Linked DNA regions of Homo sapiens: all the other regions are linked to region 1. The links are contacts of gene promoters, found by promoter capture Hi-C in blood cells and fetal thymus (Javierre and others, 2016). All regions are on one chromosome and are shown on one strand. Each heading gives the region's core, a stretch centred on a gene start or on the middle of the fragment in contact. The rest is flanking DNA. Distances are from core to core; before and after follow the strand shown.

Evidence for each region. Contacts are between HindIII fragments. The CHiCAGO score rates a contact against its expected background, and 5 or more counts as called.
Region 2: a contact is called between a fragment that was not itself captured here and the fragment with the promoter of MSH4 in region 1, in 3 of 17 cell types (total CD4 T cells, naive CD8 T cells and activated CD4 T cells). The highest score is 6.1, in total CD4 T cells.
Region 3: a contact is called between a fragment that was not itself captured here and the fragment with the promoter of MSH4 in region 1, in 7 of 17 cell types (fetal thymus, total CD4 T cells, M0 macrophages and 4 more). The highest score is 8.6, in fetal thymus.
Region 4: a contact is called between a fragment that was not itself captured here and the fragment with the promoter of MSH4 in region 1, in 1 of 17 cell types (M1 macrophages). The highest score is 6.0, in M1 macrophages.
Region 5: a fragment that was not itself captured here is called in contact with the fragment with the promoter of MSH4 in region 1 in 1 of 17 cell types (M2 macrophages); the score reaches 5.9 in M2 macrophages.

The regions. Positions count from the first base shown.
Region 1 is chr1:75,794,602-75,799,110 of GRCh38, forward strand. It overlaps MSH4 (mutS homolog 4), which reads left to right and starts at 2,281. Exons shown (of 20, transcript NM_002440.4): 1 at 2,281-2,628. The coding sequence starts at 2,385. RABGGTB (Rab geranylgeranyltransferase subunit beta) reads left to right here. Exons shown (of 9, transcript NM_004582.4): 9 at 1-485. The coding sequence ends at 49. The HindIII fragment of the contact is 6,934 bases long and covers 1-3,797 here.
Region 2 is chr1:77,206,967-77,211,475 of GRCh38, forward strand. PIGK (phosphatidylinositol glycan anchor biosynthesis class K) reads right to left here. Exons shown (of 11, transcript NM_005482.3): 2 at 3,470-3,523. Among named protein-coding and RNA genes, the nearest start is that of PIGK, 10 kb to the right of the region's middle. The HindIII fragment of the contact is 4,556 bases long and covers 1-4,208 here.
Region 3 is chr1:77,135,776-77,140,284 of GRCh38, forward strand. The region is part of intron 9 of PIGK (phosphatidylinositol glycan anchor biosynthesis class K); the gene reads right to left. Among named protein-coding and RNA genes, the nearest start is that of MIR7156, 78 kb to the left of the region's middle. The HindIII fragment of the contact is 4,984 bases long and covers 1-4,509 here.
Region 4 is chr1:74,737,393-74,741,901 of GRCh38, forward strand. It overlaps TYW3 (tRNA-yW synthesizing protein 3 homolog), which reads left to right. Exons shown (of 6, transcript NM_138467.3): 3 at 1,298-1,396. Among named protein-coding and RNA genes, the nearest start is that of TYW3, 6.5 kb to the left of the region's middle. The HindIII fragment of the contact is 946 bases long and covers 2,084-3,029 here.
Region 5 is chr1:74,758,513-74,763,021 of GRCh38, forward strand. The region is part of intron 5 of TYW3 (tRNA-yW synthesizing protein 3 homolog); the gene reads left to right. Among named protein-coding and RNA genes, the nearest start is that of TYW3, 28 kb to the left of the region's middle. The HindIII fragment of the contact is 5,911 bases long and covers 1-4,509 here.

The sequences.
Region 1 (4,509 bases), core at 1,031-3,530:
TGAAGAAGTGCTTCAGAGAGTGAATGTTCAGCCTGAGCTAGTGAGCTAGATTCATTGAATTGAAAGTTGCATAGTATAGTTTTGCCATTTTAACATTTCTGTATTTGAAGTGCTTATCGAATCTAAAAGTGACTACTGTTAATATTTTGTATATTGTGTTAAATTAATTTTAATAAATTATATAATTATACATATTGTAAAATAAAGACCGGTATTTTATTTTCTGCTTTTTATTCTGAAGTCCTGTTATTCTGACTACAGTTCTTTGTGTATACTTCTGTGTCTGTTATGTTCAATAACTGAGCTAACATAAAATAACTCTAGGTTTCTACTTGATTTTTCCCCCATGTATACCTTTCATCTGTTCTATAGCAAGTTGATGTAAATTGGTTTGTCAACAAGAATGTTAACTGATGAAAGTGGATAGAACCCATACATGAATTAAATGATGCACAAAATAAATGGCTGTTGAAATTTGGAAATGATTGATAGGTTTGAATATGGTTATTCTGAATTGGTCACAGACTTAGGTTAAATGGCAATCTACCATCTTAAAATGGGGTTGTGATTCGGACTGTCCTTTTTTTTTTTTTTTTTTTTTTTTTTTTTAGCATTTTATATATCAGAATTACCCAAAGAAGGAGTTGTCTTCAAATAAGGAAACACTAACGGGTAAGTTGATGGTCACCACAGTATTTTTTTGCACCTGTCTTTTTCTTAAAAAGCTAAAATGGGTACAATCACTCTTTTTTATTTTTTTGTGACAGAATCTCTGTTGCCCAGGCTGGAGCGCAGCAGCACGATCTCAGCTTAACTGCAACCTCCGTCTGCCGGGTTTAAGCAATTCAGCCGCAGCCTCTCGAGTAGCTGGGACTACAGCCGCACACCACCATGCCCGGCTAATTTTTATGTTACTTTAGTACAGACAGGGTTTCACCATGCTGAGGAGCTGGAGACCAGCCTGACCTTGTGATCCACCCACCTCGGCCTCCCAAAGTGCTGGGATTACAGGCGTGAGCCACCACGCCTGGCCTAAAATGAGTACAATCACTCTAGGGGTTTACAGTTTTGGTGAAAGTGAGGTATTCTCTATTTTTAAATTTTATTTTTTAGAGACAGGGTCTTCCTTTCTTCCCCAGGCTGGGGCATAGTAGTGCAATCACAGCTCACTGTAACCTTAAACTCCTGGGCTCAAGCAGTCCTTCCACCTCAGCCTCCTGAGTACCAGGGTCTACAGGTACCTGCCACCATGCCCACTATGCCCAGCTGATTTCTTAATTTTGGGGACAGGCACTGTCTTCCCCAGGCTGGTCTCCGGAGGTGAAGTAATCCTCTGGCCTCAGTCTCCCAAAGTACTGGGATTACAGGGAGGAGCCATCGTGCCCGATCTGAAAATAAGGTTTTTTGATGGAAATTGAGATTTTTCTCAAGTATGTTTGGAATGCCCTGTGCAATAATCATTCCAAGAACAGAGATGTTCTTAAGGACTGTTGTCACTGCATGTGGGTAAACCGCTGTGCATAACTGGTTTATTGAGATACTCAACAGTGGCAGGATTTCAGTAGTGGTGTAAATTAATGTCTTCTAATAGCTTCTGTATGGCAGTATCCAGATAATTTCGTCATGTTTAATCCATGGATCTCTGGTAAGTTGGTACTATTGGCCTTATTTAAGGAATTTTCTAAAGGTCACCACTGCAAAGCTGGAGTTTGAACTTCTAGTGTGCCATTAACTGATTTATATGTTAGAAACCACAGTACTAGAAATTGGTAGATGGGGAATTGTTAACTGAGAGATCTTACCCAGTCAGTCTTTCCCTGTTTCCTACTCTACTATGCACACAGCCATGTGCATACTATCTTTTGATAATATAACTATCTTTCCTATATTTGGTCACAAGATCAACCTTAGGTGGGTTATGCTGTGTGAGCATTACACGTTCTCATTGTGTCAAAGGCACTGGGTGTACTGTGTTGGGTGGTTTCTACATTTAAAGATAAGCTAGTGTGCTTGGACGTGTGGGAAATGCATGTAACATTTGCAATAAGGGAGATTGGGTGCTGTGAGAATAATGGGGCTAACAAATCGGGTGGTCATTGATGGGCCTTGCAGAGTTCTGGTCAGTCTGATACCTGCAGGCTGAGGATGTTCCAGTGAGGTTCATGTGGAAAGTGATGGGTTTGGGAATGGCTGGAAGCAGGGTCATAGACCTGAAGTACGTGAATCCATGTGGAAAGCTGAGCCTGCCTGCGCCTGCGCAGTGCAGCTTAGTGCGTCGGCGCGCAGTTCTCCCGCCCGTTTCAGCGGCGCAGCTTCTGTAGTTGGGCTACTGGAGGGGTCGCTCAGAAACCTCATACTTCTCGGGTCAGGGAAGGTTTGGGAGGATGCTGAGGCCTGAGATCTCATCAACCTCGCCTTCTGCCCCGGCGGTTTCCCCGTCGTCGGGAGAAACCCGCTCACCTCAGGGTCCCCGCTACAATTTCGGACTCCAGGAGACTCCACAGAGCCGCCCTTCGGTCCAGGTGGTCTCTGCATCCACCTGTCCTGGCACGTCAGGAGCTGCGGGCGACCGGAGCAGCAGCAGCAGCAGCCTTCCCTGCCCCGCGCCAAACTCCCGGCCAGCTCAAGGCAAGGAGTGATTGGGTGGAGGAGTCTCCTTGAGGCTAGAGGCCGGCAGTTCATGGAGGCTCGGGGGCACGTGGGTGGTGGTTACCACAGTGAAGTTGTGATTTGGTTGGGGCGTGAGATCTGAGTGCCCTGGGAATTTGGTGAGTCTGGGTGATTAGAAGCCTTGACTTTTCAAATTGGTTCTATTGCAAGACCTTGACTGTGGATGGCTCAGTTCTGAGAAAGGCTGAAGTATCCCATATAACGTCCCTCACAGTGTCTGACAAATGACAGTTTGTGCGTGAGTTTGCTGATAGAAGTTGTGAGCTGATCTTTGGCTGCTGAATTTAATTCTCCAAATCCTGCTAAGGTGGGATAAAATAGATTAAATTGAACATTTCATCTAATTCAGGGAAAATAATATGTTTAGTATTAAAAGAGTGGGCTGGGCGGTGGCTGACGCCTGTAATCCCAGCACTTTGGGAAACCAGGGTGGGCGGATCACTTGAGGCCGGGAGTTCCACACCAGCCTGGCCAACATGGTGAACCTCCCACCCCCATCCCCTATCTCTACTAAAAGTACAAAAATTATCTGGGTGTGGTGGCACGTGACTGTGGTCCCAGCTACTCAGGAGGTTGAGGTGGGAGGATGGCGAGTCCGGGAGGTCGAGGCTGCCGTGAGCTGAGATTGCGCCACTGCATTTCAGCCTGGGTGACACAGTGAGACCCTGACTCAAAACAAACAAACAAAAAAGATGCATGTCCTTCAAATCATTTATTATTTTGTTAGTCTCTATTCATGACAAAGCATCACCATTTTTCACACACGATTGCAACACAATGGTAAAGTAACAAATACCAAATCCAATGGTCATTTTTCAGTTCATCTCATGTGACCTTTCTGCTGTATTTAATGTTCTTAATTTCTTTATTTTTAGAAACAGAGTCTCGCTATGCTGCCCATGCTGGTCTCAAACTCCTGGTCTCAAGTGCTCCTGCCTCGGTCTGCCCAAGCATTGGGATTACAGGCATGAGCCACTGCTGCCTGGCCTATGTTTAATGTTCTTGACTGGTCTTCTCTTAAACTCTTTTAATTTGGCTTCCTTGATTCCACTTGCCCCTGTTTTTCTGCTACCTCCCAGAGAATTGCTGTGCCCACCTTTGTTCCCAAATTATGGGCATGTCATTAAAGCTTTTTTTCCTAGGCCACTTCTACCTAGATGTGACTATCTCCACAGCTCAGATCTCATCTACACTCCAGACTTACTTCAGACTGTCTTCTGAAGTTTTTATTGATGGACTAATGGATACCTCAGGCTGACTATATGATTAATTAAATTCCTCTCTGCACTTTTTTTTTTTTTTTGAGACAGAGTCTTGCTCTGTTGCCCAGGCTGGAGTGCAGTGGCATGGTCATGACTCACTGCAGCCTCAAATTCCTGGGCTCAAGCGATCCTCCCACCTCAGCCTCCCGAGTAGCTGGGACCAAGGCATGTGCCCCTACAGATGGCTAATTTAAAAAATTTTTTTGTAGAGACAGTGTTTTCCTACGTTGCCCAGCCTGGTCTCGAACTTCTAGGCTCAAGCGATCCTCCTACCTCAGCCTCCCAAAATGCTGGGATTACAGGTGTGAGCCACTGCACCTAGCCCTCAAACTCTTAAGTGTTCTTCCATCCTTGTAGCTTACTTACTGTACCACCAGAGTTATGTGGAAAATGATCTTATCATGTCCCTTGCCACTTAAATCAGTAGACCTGTATCTGCAGGTAAAAGATCAAACTCTCTAGAAGGATAGCCAAAGCAATTGGGATCGGTTTCTAATCTTTACAGATTTATCCCTCATCATTTAATATTTACCCTGCTTTCTAACAAAACTGAGCTACTTGCAATTCCTTTAAAGCA
Region 2 (4,509 bases), core at 681-3,180, 1.4 Mb after region 1:
GACCAGCCTGGCCAACATGGCAAAACCCCACCTCTACTAAAAATACAAAAATTACCCAGGTGTGGTGGCGTGCACCTGTAGTTGCAGCTACTTGGGAGGCTGAGGCATGAGAATCGCTTAAACCTGGGAGGTGGAGGTTGCAGGGAGTGGAGATGGCACCACTGCACTCCAGCCTTGTCGACAGAGCAAGACTCTGTCTCAACAAAAAAAGAATTGTCAGTAAAACTAATCGCTCCAAAGAGAAGTCTTTCATAACTAGTATTAGATTTTAAAAAACCATTCAGCTTAAGAGAAAGCATATCTTTGGGAAATTAAATCAAATACTGAACCAACTTAGTTATCACAATTTCTGTGACTCAGTAACATTCCTATTTCTAAAAAATTAAATTCTTTAGAATCAAAGACAATGCCCATAATTTCTTCACAGAATAGAGAAGAAAATTAGCTACATAGGGTTATACAATATTTGTTTCATTCCACATTGCTTCCTTTATTGTGAGAAACGTAGGACACAGGATAAAACATAACATATAAAACAGTTGTAAATGTACATAAGAGAGTGCATTATAAAGAAGCTATTGAACTCAAGAGAAAATTAGAAACAATCCAACCAAGTTTTATAGTTTAAAAAAATTCCTGAGAATTATATTAAAGGTGCTAGGAAAATCTAATTCCATGCCTCAAAAGTTAGTGTTGTTCAGAACCCATTCTAAGGTAGGTAAATATAGATTGGGGTCACTTGGTAATATATCTACCAAGTACAATCCCGGCTTCTATCACATGCCTGTGCCTTTAGTAGGTATAATGACAATTTTGAGAACAGCATAAGTGTTCTTGCCCCTGACAAACAGAAAGGAACTACATGGTTTTTTTTTAAATTAAGTTTTCAACCTAGAATCCAATCAGGAAAAGACTAAATTTTTGACTATATAAAAATGTAAAATTCCATATATCAAAAATATCATAAAATTCTAGCTGGACACAGTAGCTTACACCTATAATCCTAGCAGTTTGGGAGGCCAAGATGGAAGGATCACTTGAGGTTAGGAGTTAAAGAACGGCCTAGGCAACACAATGAGACCCCCATCTCTACAAAAAAAAATGTAAAATTTAGCAAGGAGTGGTAGTTTGTGGTTGTAGTTCTAGCTACTTGGGAAGCTGACGTGGGAGGATCACTTGAGCCCAGGAGTTCAGGGCTACAGTGAGCTATGATCACACCACTGCACTCCAGCCTGGGAGACAGTGCAAGACCTCATCTCCAAAAACTCCCTTTTTAATTTTAAAAAATAAAATATAATTTATTAAAGTTTCACTATACTAATATGTAAAATATTGGACAAAAAAAAGAAAACTGTAGTTGTAATACAATGCTCAGTAATGTTTCTTTTTCATCTTTTATTTTTTACCAGGTTACTGAAATTGAAGAGAGGTTTGGTTAGAGGTTTCCCAGAGCAAGGAAGGCTTTCATATGTGTGTCAGTATAAGCTAACAGTATTTTAGTTCCAAAAGATAAGCCCTTTGCAATTGGTGGTCTGCACATAGGCAGTTATTGCCTCTTGAACATGGAGGGGCTCCTAGTTTCCTGTAGAAAAAGTTTATCCTGTCAAATTGGTAGATGATGGCCTGGCTCCCAATAGTTCTCCTTACTTTTAAGTAGGCATTGAAATCCTCTCTCCTTATCTTTAGCAGTCTTTTCTCAGTAACTTCAGAAAAATTTCTTGTGAAGGGTAGCATATATAAGAGGTTTTTTTCTTGAAGAACAAGAAAATGAGCCATGGACCCATGTTACACTGTCCTATTTAATCACAATGCTATTACATTTAAAACAAACAAGTATAGAACTTGGAATCACCCTATTTACTTATAGGAACCTATAGATAATTCATTATCTATATTTTTATCAAATGTGTTTGTCAAATGATTCTCAATAAATTTACAAAGCCTCAAACTTCATTTGGCGTCAGTAAGTTAATTATAGTCTTGCATGTTTATTCTGCACTTTAAGCTGAATTCCTCTATCCATCTCCTTTACATTCCCACTATATTCTTACCATTTATAATCCCCAGTTTTCTTCCTTTTCCAACATGCATTACTGGCTTTGAGATGCTGTACATTCTCTGCTCCCTTTTTCACAAAATCAGCTTCCTTTCCTGCCTCTTTGAACCTATTCTCTATTTCCCCATTGTTTCTTCCAGTCCAATCCTTGTACATGTTTTTTCATTAAGTCAACATTATATTTTCTAATCATATAAATGCCATTAAATGAAACTCCAGTAATGAAACTATTATCCAAATATTTTCCAAGCATAGGAAAAACAAATTTGATTATGTGAATTCTGTTTGAGGAATTAAAACTACAAATTTCTGAATCCAGAAAAATTAAAGATGGTAATTCACACTAAGGTTGGGCAAAAGGCAGAAGAAAAAAAAAGGGCCAATAAGCAGGCCTTACTAAAAATCAAAACAATGCAAATTAAAACAAAATGTAATGTGTTGACCAGCAGTCAAAAAGTTAAGATAAAAATTAAGAATACATAGCTGACTTGAATTTAGAAAAAGACCCACAGTCTTTCTGGAGGCAATCATGCTCCATGACTTCACATTCTTACACTTAGGAATTTATCCTAAAGAGAAAATCAGTCAGGTCACAGAGTTATGTGTATAAGAATGTTCAACACAGCCCTGTTTACAATAACAAAAAATTTAGATTCTAAATGCCCATAAACTGGAGGTTACAGTACATTCACAAAACAGAAGAAAATACAGCTTTTGGAAAAGATTATATGTCTCCATACCTACTGGCAGGGAAAGATCCCTAAGATAATACTAAAGGGTTGCAAAATAGCAGGTATAATATGATCCCAATTATATAAAATCATATATCTATATATCTTTATGCTTATATATGAAGAGGGAAAGGGCTTGAACAATGCTCACCAAAATATTAACTCTGGGATGTGGGACTTGAAGCCATTTTCCCTGTCTTCTTTAATTGAGGTGAAATTCACAAAACAAAATTAGTCTGCCTTCTTTAAACTTTTCTGTATAACTTGAACTTCTACAGTGGTCATTTATTATTTTTATAAGCAGAAAAAACAACTGAAAAAATTTTAAAAAGTGTAAGTAGAAAGTATCTATCAACTAATACTATAAATAACAGATGCAATTAGTAGTTTCCAGCATTAAAATATTTCTACCTCTTATAAAATGTTTCCTTTAACAATAGCATTCCTAATTTATTCTTACATTTATTTTCAGATCACCACTTGACAGATATTCTGAGGACAAAGAATATTACTAGATTATTATAGTTGATGTGGTCAATTTAAAATATAGCCAAATCAAAATAAAGAATTTCTGATATAAAATGTAAAAAAATAAATTGTATTTTCAAAAATTTGATTCACACAAATTTCTCAGATACATATCTAATGTGAACAGCAAGGTATACTTTTACAGTATACTTACCAGAACAGCCCAGTTGTTTGTATGGCCACTTCTAAAGAATTGTTCTGCTTGATCCTAAATAAAGCAAAACAAATAGAAGAAAAAGGCACAATTTCTCAGAATAAAGACTGATAATGGACAGTTGAGACTCGTGTAGTTTTTACAGTTGTAATAACAATCATCTTACGTAAGTTTATGAAGATTCCAGTATTTGTCATTATGGACTACACAAAGAATCAAAAGAGCTTATTGCTTAAGACACTATAAGGACAAAAGTCCTGAACTGGAAATCTGGAGAACTGGGTTTCATTCTTGGCTTAGACACCAATTAAACAGAGTAACCTTGATTAAGATACTTAACCTCCCTGGAGACTCAGTTTCCTCATGTGCAAAATGAAAGCAATGCCAATCCTACATCACAGGGCTCTTTTAGAGAACTATAAGGTATATGTGCAAGAGCTTCTGCTTTAAAATATTATTTAGCATTACTCAAATGAAAGCATACTTACTATATAACTCATATCTTTCTATTTCCCGTACCCTGAGAATTATTAAGAAAGTAGAATGTATGTTCAATTAAGAACGTACAATCTGCTTGTTCAACATTTAACAAGGCTATTATTTAAAACTGCAACCTCGCCCCACCATTTTTCTTACTATAATTTATTTTTTCTACTGTGTTTATCATCTTCTTACATTATATATATAATTAACTTATTTATTATGTGTATTAATCGTCTGTCTTTCCCAAAACAATGTAAGCTTCAGTAAGGCAGGGGCTTTCATCAGTTATATTCAATGATGTATTCCAAGTAAGTTTGGCATATAGTGGGTTTTTAATAAATATTTTTTGAATTAATGAATCCATGGTCCAAATGCCTTTACTCTCGGTGAACAAATCAAGAGTCATCTATGGAAAACTGAAACCGCATGGTTGATAGGTTCAGAATATGGTAAGAAGGTTATTACATAAAGGTTGTACTATAAAGTTGTAACTTTCAAAATCTCCTTTTAGGTTGTACTCTGATAATTCCTCTATTAAAGTGATCACTCTCTACAGT
Region 3 (4,509 bases), core at 917-3,416, 1.3 Mb after region 1:
ACCCTTTTCCCAAAGGAAAAAAAAAAAAAGCTGAAACTCCAGAATACTTTAACCAATCACTTCCTCTTCTCTTACACAATGTTGTTATTAAATACATTAATACTTTGGTTTATCTTACTCCCCAAATAATTATTGTCATTGTCATTATCATCATAATTATAAAATATATTCAGTTTTTGCTTAAATTTACTCACATTTTACCAATTTATTACAGCGTTCCTATTTACACTCAGACCTCTTTTCTGGTTCATTTCCCTTTTTCAAAAAGTGCATCCCTTTAGGTATTAAGGTATTTTGATACCAAACACTCTCAGCTTTTGCATGTTTGAAAATGTCCTTATTTTTCATTCAGTCCTTAATGGTAGCTTAGCCAGCTTAAATTCTAAGCTAATAGTAATTTTCTCTCAGTACTTTATTGGTATTACTGTACTATCTTTTGGTTTCCGCTGTTGCTATTAAGATGTTTGCTGTCGGCCGGGCGCGGTGGCTCACGCCTGTAATCCCAGCACTTTGGGAGGCCGAGGCGGGCGGATCACGAGGTCAGGAGATCGAGACCATCCCGGCTAAAACGGTGAAACCCCGTCTCTACTAAAAATACAAAAAATTAGCCGGGCGTAGTGGCGGGCGCCTGTAGTCCCAGCTACTTGGGAGGCTGAGGCAGGAGAACGGCGTGAACCCGGGAGGCGGAGCTTGCAGTGAGCCGAGATCCCGCCACTGCACTCCAGCCTGGGCGACTGGGCGACAGAGCGAGACTCCGTCTCAAAAAAAAAAAAAAAAAAAAAAAAGATGTTTGCTGTCAACTTAGTTGTTACCCATTGTAGATGCCATTTTTCTCTTTGACTGATTTTTAAATCTCTTATGTACTTAGGGAGTTCTAAAATGTTCACATGAAGTATATACTCCCTGTATTGTGCTTTGGATTTGTTGAACTACCTTCAAAATGCAAAAGTATAAGCCATTATCTCTTATATTGCCTTTTGCTCATTCTATATTTTCTTCTCCCTGGAACTCTAATTAGACATAGCTAACAGTTTCCAATATTATCTTCATGTCTCATAACCTGTCCTAACACTTTCCATCTCTCTGTCTATATTTCATACTGAGTTATTTCTTTAGATCTATCTTATTTTACTAATTCTCCTTTCAGGTATGAGAAATCTTACAAAAATCATTAAAATCTTTTACTCTTTCCTGTATCTATTCATACCTTTTTGAGATACAACTTTGTAGCTCCTTCTAAGAAAAGATACAGTCTGCTTTTCCAGCCCTTGAATTTTACTTGGATTTGTGATTCCTTCTGCACAATAGGATGCAGCAAGAATAACAGGGCTCCAGTTTCAAATCTAGGCCACAAAACGTCTTGCATGCTTTTGGGACCCATGGATAACCTCCTGGAGGATAAAGGACCACATGGGAGCTGAATCAACATCAAAAGCCCCAGAAATGTGAGATAGTATAGCCAAAATCAGAAGTCACTCACTCAACCCAAAGATGACAAATTCTGAGAAAGCACAACATAAGCTAGAAGAACCATGAAGGTTGAGCCCATCCTACATTGTCAACCCTCAGAATCAAAAGCTAAATATGTGGTTGTTATTTAGACATTAAGTTTTGGAATGGTTTGTGATGCATCAATACCTCAATAATATGTCTATTATTTAATCTGTTTATTACATTTTTAATTTGAATAATTGTGGTTTACAAATATGAAAGTCTATTTGGCCTTTTCCAAATATGCCTCATCATTCTTTATCATGTAATCCTTGTGTAATCCTTCATTTCTTTCTTTTGTTTTTATTTTATCTTATTTTCCTCTTTTATTTGTATTTTATTTTATTTTGAGACAGAGTCTTACTCTTGTCACCCAGGCTGGAGTGCAATGGCACAATCTTGGTTTGGCTCACTGCAACCTCCGCCTCCTGGATTCCAGCAATCCTCCTGCCTCAGCCTCCCGAGTAGCTGGGATTACAGGTGCATACCACCACACCCGGCTAATTTTTGTATTTTTAGTAGAGACGGGGTTTCACCATGTTGGCCAGGCTGGTCGTGAACTACTAACCTCAAGTGATTTGTCCACCTCGGCCTCCCAAAGTGCTGGGACTACAGGAGTGAGCCACCACGCCTGGCCCCTTTTATTTCAAAAAATAATTTAAATGGTTATTTTGTATTTTGTAATTGATAAGTCATATATCTAATGTTCTTGTAGGTCTAATTCTCCTGATTATTCTGTATTGTGGTAAGCAAAATTCTAAGATGACCCTCAAGATTCTTATCCCTTGGTGTTCATATGCCCTGTATTGTCCACTTTCCTGGAGAATAGGCAGGACTGTGAATAAGATAAACTTCACTCCTATGATAAGGTTATGTTATATGACAAAAGTGAGGGAATTTTGCAAATATAATTAAGGTCTGAAATCAGTTCACACTTAGTTAATCAGAAGGAGACTGTCCTGAATGGGCTTGACCTAACCAGGCAAACCATTAAAAGGACCATGCCCTTCCTAAAGTTAGACAGATTGAAAATAGGAGAGACTCTACTGCAGGCTTTGAAGACACAAACAGCCATACTGTGAACTGCCTTTGGAGGGGCCATGAGGCAAGGACCTAAGACAGCTTATAGAAGCTATGGATAGTGTTTGGTTAATACTCATAAGAAAATGGGATTTCAGCCCTACATGTGCAAGGAACTGAATTTTGTCAACAATGAGTGAGCTTGGAAGAGGACGCCAAGCCTCAGATGAGACCACAGTATCAAGTGGTCTTTTTCAGCCTGTGAAACTTTAGGTAAAGGACCCAGCCAACCTGTACGCACACTTCCAACCTACAGATACTGTGAGATAATACATGGGTGTTGTCTTGCACTGCTGAGTTTGTGGTAGCTTGTTATACAGCAGTAGAAAACTAATACTCTCACGGGATTAGCTTGCTTTCTCAAATTGTCTGTAATTTAAGAACATGAACACCTTAATCCGTGAGGATCCTGAGGAACCTCAATTGAGAATGATTCCTAAATCGAATTTGAGTTTGCTTCTGTCTTGCTTTGGGTTACTATCAATCTAGTATCACTTCAACTGAATTGCTCAACTTTAAATTTCTTGGGCCAAGAAGGTTAACCATGTTAAATCACATGAGAGTATGACTGATTACATATTCCCAGGGAAGCCTCTTTTACCCCCATATCTCTAGCCAAGGCAAGAGAAACGTCCTCATTTTCTTCCCCTCAGGCTGTTAGATTTTATTCCAGCCCACTCTCTGATTGAGGGTAAAGCCTTAGAAGTTAATGGTTTTATGTAGAGGTCTTAAGCTCAACTGTCAACAAATGGATCCACAGTCTTTTCTCCTAACCCTCACACAAAGCCATTCTAACTCAAAACTCTAGGTTTCTATATTAGTACATGTTAGGCCGTCCTGCCTTCCACATTCATTCGGCACTTGAGTTTTAGCGTCTATGTGTTTTTTCCCAAGAGATTTCCCTACTGTTGAGCAAAGTGGAGCTTCCTCTGTTGCAAGCCACTGTTCAGCAATAGGCTCCTGCGAATACTTTCTGCTACTAGATAAAAAGACCAATAGCAGGATAAGTCACACAGTCCCCTGTAAAGGTTTCTTTAGATGAAGGTGCAGCTGGAAACACCATGGGTTGGATCAAGGAGGAAATTACAACCCTAAATCACATGAGAGCCCTAAAGCAAGAAAGGGCTCCCATAGACACTCCCGCTTTTTAAAGTAAATCTATACTGTCCTTGCAAAAGGAGACAGTCTGAGCTTGCTGCCAACTGCTCAGGGAAGCTGCATGTTTAGAACACCAGCTGTTACTATCTAGAAACACTGTAGGAAGTAGAACCCATGTAGTCCTTACCACTGAATGAGGGGGTGCCACCAGCTCTGCTTCAATGTGGAAGAAGCCAGCAATGCTATTCATCAAATGTTGTTTGTCTCTACACACTTACTTTCTTGGCAGCTCAGCTAAGCATTTAAAAAGATCTTTTTAAAATATAATTTATAGTGCATCTAGGTATCTTGTAACGGAATAATTTTCAGAAAAATCCTGTCAGCAACATTACAAAAGTGAAGTCAATTGATTATTCTTTATTATTAACTTCAAACCATCCCTCTAAACTCATTTACATTAATTTTTTGTTCCGAGAAAGTGAAATGTTGTATCTCATTCTAATATTACAGGGTGTTCTTTTATTGAGAAATGTTTCCTTCTAATGAAATGTGAAACTATGAATGCCAAAGGCTACTGAATTCAAGCTGTATTTTTATATCTGATATAGTTTAGATATTTGTCCCTGCTCAAATATCAGGTTGAACTGTAATCCCCAATGCTGGAGGTGGTGCCTGATGGAAGGTGTTTGGGTCATGAGGGCAGATCCCTCATGGCTTGGTGCTGTCTTCACCATAGTGAGTGAGTTCCCGCAAGATATGGTCGTTTAAAAGTGTGTGGCACCTCCCCAGTGCATGCTCACACTCACTCACTCTTTCTCTCTTGCACTCTCTCCCAAACCC
Region 4 (4,509 bases), core at 1,307-3,806, 1.1 Mb before region 1:
TTAGAGAAGGACTTGGAATTGTCCTGCTTAGATTAGGTGCTCTCCCTCTTAGGTTAATTATTTTTGCTAGTGGAATGTGATGATATCCTTGATCAGACATAAGCAAGCACTTGGCACCTCTGATATTGTGATAGGGAGAGTGATGTGTGACAGGGTAATGATTGACAGCCCCACCAGAAATCAAATGGTGTGAAGGCAGGACGATGTTGCCCGGGGATGCTGGGCAGACAGAAATAATAACTGTCTTGTATAAATTCTAGCTCAGACACAATATTACATGTTTCACTAGGTGGTCAGACTACGCCGCAGGATACACTGTAACATGGGTGCAGCCAAGGTTAAAAGGCAGGCAAGTGCTACCTAGGGAAGAGACTAGTACCTGACTCAAGGTCACTAACAAAAAACACGCATACTAGGCTCAAGTGTTGTAACATTTGCTTATAGCAGGAGGGAAGAGACTACACAAGATCTAGCCCTTTGCAATGTGTCAGTCCCCATGGCTAGCAGATTGGTTCCACAGCTGATCAGGGCAGAGTGATGGCATGTACCCCACTTTGTGCTGCAGTAGCTCCCAGACCCTGAACACTGCCCCATAGGGTCTGAAATACAGAAAGCTAGGAACGTGCTCAGGGGCCATTGGTTCTCATGTAGCTGAGCAGTTCCAAGGTTCCTCTCCCAAAGTTAGGAGATAGCAAAAACAAACAAGTGAACAGGGAAAAAAAAACAAACAAAAAAACTGCAAGTTGCAATTGTTACAACAACTGTGCCTGTTACAGAGGGAACAGGAACTCACTGGCTGTGCTCTGAGCTCTTTGCATGCACTGCTATTTGTGAGCTTACTAGTGCTGCTGGTAAGCACTGGTGCTTGGTACAGGATGCTTCTTGGGAACATGGGTGGCAGTTAGGCTTTGTTTGGACCCTTCTCTCACATTACATTTGTCTCTATCTCAATCTAACAAAAAATTTAAACAATCCTAATACAGTTTTTGTATACTACATTTCCTAATGAAAAATCCGTTATGGAATTAAATAAAGTAGTAGTTTACTTCTTCAAAGCACACTAATAGGTGGAAAGAATGGTATAGAAGATTTACGGGAGAACTAGAAATTTTAAGAAAATAAGCAAATAAATTTTTGGTGAAAAAGGACCAAGAAAGCAGAGGGAAAAGTTACTGCAGAAAAAATATGCTGAGTGATTCTGAAAATTTCTAAGAGAAATTGAAGTTATGTATGGGGTAAAGGGTCGCCAAAGGACAGGCCATATACTTGCATCTGATACCACTGTTCATTTATTTAGATTGTAGCTCTGAAGAAAGCAAATGGTGATGCCACTTTGAAATTTGAACCATTTGTTCTTCATGTGCAGTGTCGACAATTGCAGGATGCACAGATTCTGGTAAAATTTTGTTGTAATTGTACTTGAATTTATAGATATGTGGGTAGATGTAATTTTAAGCTTTTAACCTGCTATAAATATCAATGAGATATTACCTTATTCAACTAGTTATGTATATATTATTTATTGGTCTGCTCAATCTATTAATTTTTAATATTAGAAAAAAAGAGTAGCTAATCATTGCTAGGAAAATATAAGTCCCAGGTTATGCTTCCTGTTTTCTTTCTTAACGTTTTTATTTATAAATTTTACTTCAGCATTCTATAGTTTGTTTTTGTTTGCCAAGCTTTAAGAAAAAATACTGTGGAACTACATGTAAAATTAAGAGTTTTAAAGAATATTTCATTTTTCCCATTTAAATGAGCATGCATGAGGTAAACATCTGTTTAGTCTTGATTCTCCTTTTTATACCTTTTATATATTTATATATAAAACTGAATTGCATTTTAAGCAACAATAATGTATTGAGTCTCAGTGTGTCAAGTACTAGGGGCACAGTGATGAACAAGATTAAAGACTGTCTTGGTTCCTCTTCCAAAGTTAGGAGACAGCAAAAACAAACAAGTGAACTGGCAAAAAAACAAAAAACAAACTGCAAGTTGCAAAATGTTCTACCGAAGGAAAAAACAACCTGGTAATAGAGAACAGTGCAAAAAGCAGCTCACTTGAAGATAGGCTTCTCTGAAAAGCTTTCTTTAAGCTAAGACTTAAAGGAACAGAAAGAGCTAGGCATGTAGCTGGGAAATGAACATTCCATGAAGATGGAAAAGTATATACAAAGTTTCAGTGGGTCTAGAGAGTGGAAAGAAGGTGCCAGAAGGAGGCTGGGGCCAGGTCATTTAAGGCTTTGTAGACCAGATTAAAGAGTTTGAATTTCTTTCTGAGTTCAGGGAAAAGTTATTGAAGGGACAGTTTTAAGCAAAGAGTGGCTTTCTAGGTTTTTGTTCTGAAAAACTCAGTTCTGCTTCAGCATAGAGAAAGGAGTGCAGTAAGTGAAAAGATACGAGTTAGGAGTAGTTTGTGGTGATAGGTTGGTGTAAGGTGATAGCACCAAAGCAGGTGAGAAAGGAATAGATTCAATATGTATTTCAGCATTTGAATCAACAGAATTGTAAGGTTGTCTGGGGAAGGACAGCCAGAGGGAGGAGGAGAAAGAGGAATCAAGGATAACTACTTAGGTCTGGCTGGAGCCCCTAGCTGTATGGTAGTCGCCTTTATCCAGATGGGGTGTGCTGAAGTTGAAGTGTGTCCAGAATTGGTTCCTTCCAGTGGGTTATTGGTCTCGCTGACTTCAAGAATGAAGCCGTGGACCCTCGCAGTGAGTGTGACAGTTCTTAAAGATGGTATGTCCGGAGTTTGTTCCTTCAGATGTTCAGATGTGTCCGGAGTTTCTTCCTTCCAGTGGGTTCGTGGTCTTGCTGACTTCAGGAGTGAAGCTGCAGACCTTCGCAGTGAGTGTTACAGCTCTTAAAGGTGGCATGTCCAGAGTTGTTTGTTCCTCCCAGTGGGTTCGTGGTCTTGCTGATTTCAGAAATGAAGCCGCAGACTTCCACAGTGAGTGTTAACAGCTCATAATGGTAATGCAGACCCAAAGACTGAGCAGCAGCAAGATTTATTAAGAGTGAAAGAATAAAGCTTCTGCAGCTTGGAAGGGGACTCAAGTGGGTTGCTGCTGCTGGCTCGGGTGGACAGTTTTTATTCCCTTATTTGGCCCCACCCACATCCTGCTGATTGGTCGCTTTTACAGACAGCTGATTGGTCCATTTTACAGAGTGCAGATTGGTGCATTTACAATCCTTTAGCTAGACATAGAGCGCTGATTGGTGCGTTTTTACAGAGTGCTGATTGGTGCGTTTACAATCCTTTAGCTAGACACAGAGCGCTGATTGGTGCATTTTTACAGAGTGCTGATTGGTGCGTTTACAATCCTTTAGCTAGACACAGAGCGCTGATTGGTGCATTTTTACAGAGTGCTGATTGGTGCATTTACAGTCCTTTAGCTACACACAGAGCGCTAATTGGTGCGTTTTTACAGAGTGCTGATTGGTGCATTTGCAGTCCTCTAGCTAGACAGAAAAGTTCTCCAAGTCCCCACTTGACCCAGAAAGTCCAGCTGGCTTCATCTCTCAATCCACCCTCTAAACAGGACACCTCAACTGCTGCTGGGAATTTGGCGATGACGGCTCTAGCTACTTCCTGCTGGATAGGGGTGAAGAAGGGGCCCTGCAGTTGTAGTGTCCTCCAGAGGGGAACTCTTTAGACCAGTGAAAGGGCCAGTGGGTCCGTCCAGGGGTCCTCGGTAGAAGTTGTTAGTTGAGCTCGTTTGGCTACAGTATATAGTCCTATCACAAAGAGTATGGTTAGTATGCTGCTAGAAAATATGATGAAATAGTAAAAGGATTCCATTAAAGGGGTAAAGAGAGGTGTTAAAGATTATGTAGGTTTTCACTTATATTTTTTAAGGAGGAATGGGTTTTTCCTCAGGATCAGAGGTAAGAGCCTTTTTAGTCTGGGATGTTTCCTTCCAAAATAGGAGATGCAAGTCCTCCAATGGTTCGCAGGTGTATCGAGGCTGGTCTGGCTGATCTTGGGACTCCTGAGCTGATGGTCCCGCAGGTTCCTCCGGGGGTGTCCAAAATTTAACTGGGGTGTGGTGAATCCAAGATTCCACTCCTGCCATCTTAACTGCAGTGGGGGTAGAGAGGATTACCGAGTATGGTCCTTCCCACAAAGAATCTATAGATGGGGAGGTAGAGGGGAGAGATTTGACTAACACTGGATCTCCTGGTTGAAACAACTCTGTTCCCTTTTCTCTGTGACATCCTTCAGGTAGGTTTTTAAGGTTTCGTTGATATTTTGCCAAAGAAGTTATATTTTTGACCAAGTTGGCCATTTCCTGATCAAGTAGGAGTTCATTTGTGAGAAAAGTTCTTCCATACAGCATTTCATAGGGACTGAGCCCCATTTTGTGAGGACAATTTTGGATTCTCAACAAGGCCATGGGCAAAAGAGTAGGCCATGGGAGATGAGTTTCTTGTGTTAGTTTTCTTAAGTGCCTCTTGAGTGTTTCATTTGCCTTCTCGACCTTCCCTCAGGATTGTGGCCTCCAGGCA
Region 5 (4,509 bases), core at 1,395-3,894, 1.0 Mb before region 1:
ATTCTTATCGTCATTTACCAGCCATTTTCATGGTTCTGATTCTTATCGTCATTTACCAGCCATTTTCATGGTTCTGATTCTTATCGTCATTTACCAGCCATTTTCATGGTTCTGATTCTTATCGTCATTTACCAGCCATTTTCATGGTTCTGATTCTTATCGTCATTTACCAGCCATTTTCATGGTTCTGATTCTTATCATCATTTACCAGTGCAAAACAGGTATTTCTATTACATTGAATTACAATTACTTAATTGCACATCTTTTTTTTCCACTGCAACATGGTCACGTTGAAGATAGGACTCCCCCCACCAGCCCCCAACCTTACACACATACACAAACACACTTGAGATATCTTATCCTACAATGTAACATGTATCTGGCTCACAGTAGAAGCCCAAGAAATGTTTATTGAATTAATGATAAAAGATAAAGGAGCTTGAAAGTTAACACATTATATTGAGTTCTCCAAAGGCAAAAACAGTTTCTTGTTCATTATATTCTGAGTGTCTGGAATGAGAATAGTGGTTAATAAATGTTCACAAATTTAGTTGACTAGACTTTTTCATAAATAGTGCTACTTTTTTTAAGGCTTCAAAGCATTAGGATGCTTATTCTGGAAGACCTGTCAGATGGTTTAGAGATGGGGTGAGTACAAGTAGGCTCTTTCTATAGCCTAAGGAAGAAGTAATAGGTCCCTGAGTAACAAGATGAATGAGAATGAGACTGCAGAATATCCATCAGACATGGCAGCAGGTTGGAAATAGGGGTAACACAGAGAAGGAGGACTAAAGAATAAGAGCTGTCTTAGATTCCTCATAGTTGCTAGTCTTTATCATTTTTCTTTCTTTCTTTTCTTTTCTTTTTTTTTTTTTTTGGTAGAGATGAGGTCTTTCTATGTTGCCCAGGTTGGTTTCAAACTCCTGGCCTGGCCAGAAGTGATTGTCACACCTTAGCCTCCCAAAGTTTTGGGATTATAAGCATGAGCCACTGCACATGGTCAAGTCTTACCATTTCTAAAAATGGGTCTAAAACAGCTAAATAAATAACACACATTTCCCTGTATAGTTGACCCTTGAACAACATGGAGTTAGGGTTACCACCCCCCTATGTAGTTGAAAATCCACATGGCTTTTGTTGTTGTTGTTTTTGAGACAGGATCTCACTGTCACCCAGGCTGGAGTACAGTGGCATGATCTTGGCTCACTGCAACCTTCGCCTTCCAGGCTCAAGTGATCCTCCACCTCAGCTTCCCGAGTAGCTGTTACTACAGGCATGTACCACCAAGCCCAGATAATTTTTTGTATTTTTTTGTAGAGATGGGGTTTTGCCATGTTGCCTAGGCTGGTCTCAAACTCCTGGACTCAAGTGATTGCCCGCCTTGGCCTCCCAAAGTGTTGGGATTACATGCATAAGCCACCGCACCTGGCTGACATATGACTTGACTCCCAAGAAACTTAGGTACTGATATCCTACCTTTGACTGGAAGCATTATTCATAACATAAGCAGTTGATTAGCACATGTATTGTATGTTATATATATTGTGTACTGTATTCTTACAATAAAGTAAGCTAGAGAAAAATGTTATTAAGAAAATCATAAGGAAGAGAAAATATATTTATTATTCATTAAGTGGAAATGGATCATCACAAAAGCCTTTGTCTTCATCGTCTTCACCTTGAGTAGGCTGAGGAAGAGGAGTGGTTGGTCCTGCTATCTCAGGGGTGGCAGAGGCAGAAGAGGTAGAGAAGGTAGAAGGAGAAGCAGGAATATTTGGTGTAGCTTTTATTCAAAAAAAATCTGCATGTAAGTGGACCTGTGTAGTTCAAAACCATATTGTTCAAGGGTCAACTGTATACTTAAGACCAAATAAGTAAATAATATAAAGCGAAAACATATATTTTATTTTCTAGTAGTGTTTCCTGGGACATCCCCCATGCCCCCATCTTTTTTCCTCCTAATTCCTCTCTTAGCACATTGTCAGCTTCCATTCATCCTTGCAGTTCAGCCCAGGCATTGGATCTTATAACGGAGAGCATTTTGTGATTTCAGTTAGAGCACTGTGTCCCATCTTTTTCATGGTGTGTTAAATGTGGCTTTACAGTTCTGTAGCTCCTGTTAAACCATGAGCTCCTTGAGGGCACAGACCACAGACCACTTCTCTGGGCTTCTAGTACTGGGCACTTGGCCTGTCACATACATGTTGTTTTTTAAAGAAAATGCTAGTTAAAATCTAAATACATATTAGAATAGCCTTCTTTGATATTTGTGAATGATGGAAGCCTAAAGGAAATAAAATTGTGCCTCAGTTTCCTCAATTCTGTGTTTTTGTTTGAGAAGTTAGAGAAATTCCAGCTTTCTGTTGAAAGTGGTTTTCTAACTGACGTTGAAAAACAAGAATTCATTTTCTCAGGCTTGGCCTGAAAACTTATGAAGAGAACTAAGTACAAGTTGTCCTATGCTATGATAATCTTGACTGCAGAGGCAGAAAAACTGAAGGCTATTTGCTTTTCTTTCAAGGAGAGAAAAAATACAGTTGCCTGAACATACTTTTTTTTTTTTTTCCTTAAATCTCAGAGCTCATTTTGTTGCCTGTGAGAGTTCAGAAAATTGCACTTTTGAAAATCAGGCTTAAGTGTTACTGTATAAGGGGAGAACATAACTTTTGACTTACTGAGTACTGTTTCTCAAAGGACTTTTAAAGTTCTCTTAGAAAAGGGAAAGGAAAACTAGTATTTGAAGTTTTTATTCAGGAAAGGATCTTTGTTCCATTTTACCAGTTGTTTTGGTACCCTAAGGACATAGCTTTGAATTCTTAGGTTCTTTAATGGTTGATTAAAGTAAGGCATACATTCCTTTTTAATTACTTTTTTTTAATGTGATGGATGAGGCATTTTTCACAAGCTGTTAATTCTCGGTGATCATAAAGGAGCAATTTAATCTTATCTTTCATTTTCTAGGAAGAAAGTATAATCCAGAAAAAAACACTCAGTTACCTAAGCCTAAAGTGCAGGGTTGATAAAGAATGGTAGAAGATGAGGTTGTATAACAGGGATGGCGTCTTATGATCAGGATGAGCCACACCATCTTGTGGCATGCTCAGATTTATGTTTTAGATAACGTTAATGTAAGTCATTCTGAACAGGCTGTGTGGAACATGAGAAGGATACCAGTCATTGACATCACCTAAGATGGTGACAAGACCTAGAAAGAAAGATCAAGTCAAGCATAGAAGTTTTCATCAATGTAAGGAACCAAACATTATTGGTAGATGACATGAGGGGCAGATGGAGGAATTTGGGAAAATGTTGATGAGCCGGTTTTATTCTGACCTCATCTCTCAGCTCTGTGGTAGCAGGATATGGAAAACATAAGCAGTCTCCGCTTGGGAGGAATGATGGAAGATGGTGTCTACAGGGGAGCCAGGTTTCAGTAACGGAAGGATGTAAAGGGTGCATTAAGTGAAAGGATGTTACCATGGAACAAGGCCCAAAAAGTTATGTATGTCACGCATCTCAGTCTTTTTAAATTTAACTCTGTGTCTGTTTTTGAGATTAATTCATTCATTGATAAAAATATTTATTGAGCATCTGTTGTTTGCCAAGCACAGCACTAGATATCAAGGTGTACAGTGATGAGTGCATAAGTTCTTGAAAATGGACAGGATGTGTACTCATCATGTTGTATATGTATTAGAGTTAGGTGACATATTTAGGAATATGTGGATATTTGGAGTTTTGGAGTTTTATAGGCTTCGTAAGTAGAACTTAGCCTGTTTATTGAATCAAACAAAGATGAAAATTGGTCCAAATAGAGATCTATTCTGTAGATATCAAAAATTTCTTGCCATAGTCTCCCATTATAATAGGACATAAAAGTAAGATGAGATCTCTGCAGTGGCAGGGGGGTTTCCTAACTTTCAGATCATTCTGATTTGAGACCTAGGATAACACATTTATAGTTACATTTTTATTCTGGGGTTATTCATTCATTTATTCAATATAGTCTTACTGAGTATGCCAGCACTCTACTACATGCTCAGAATATAACAGGAGACAGGTAGATAGGATCCTTGCTCTCATGAAGTCTATATTCCATAAAAGTAGTCATTTTTGATAACTAACTCTCTGGGTACTTACATATATCATCTGTAATCCTGTGACAACCCTGATAGCTACAGGATAATAATATCCAGCTTTATAAATGTGAAAAATCAAGACTGTGGGAAATTAATTGGAATTAGCTGACATCACCTTTCCTAAAAGAATGTTGGTGTCAAATGCATGCAACACACCATGCTATGCTGCCTGCTGCAGGCTACTGTGTCAAGCAGAGTTTTGTGTTAGGTGTTAACATGAGGGTAGAAAAGAAATGAGGCCTGGTTTTCAGAGAGCCTACAGTTTATTGTATCACAAAACTAACACTAAAACTCCAATAGAAAAATGAATAAAGGGAAACAATAATTTACACTAAAAAATTCAAATAGCTAATAAATGAGAAACATTGTA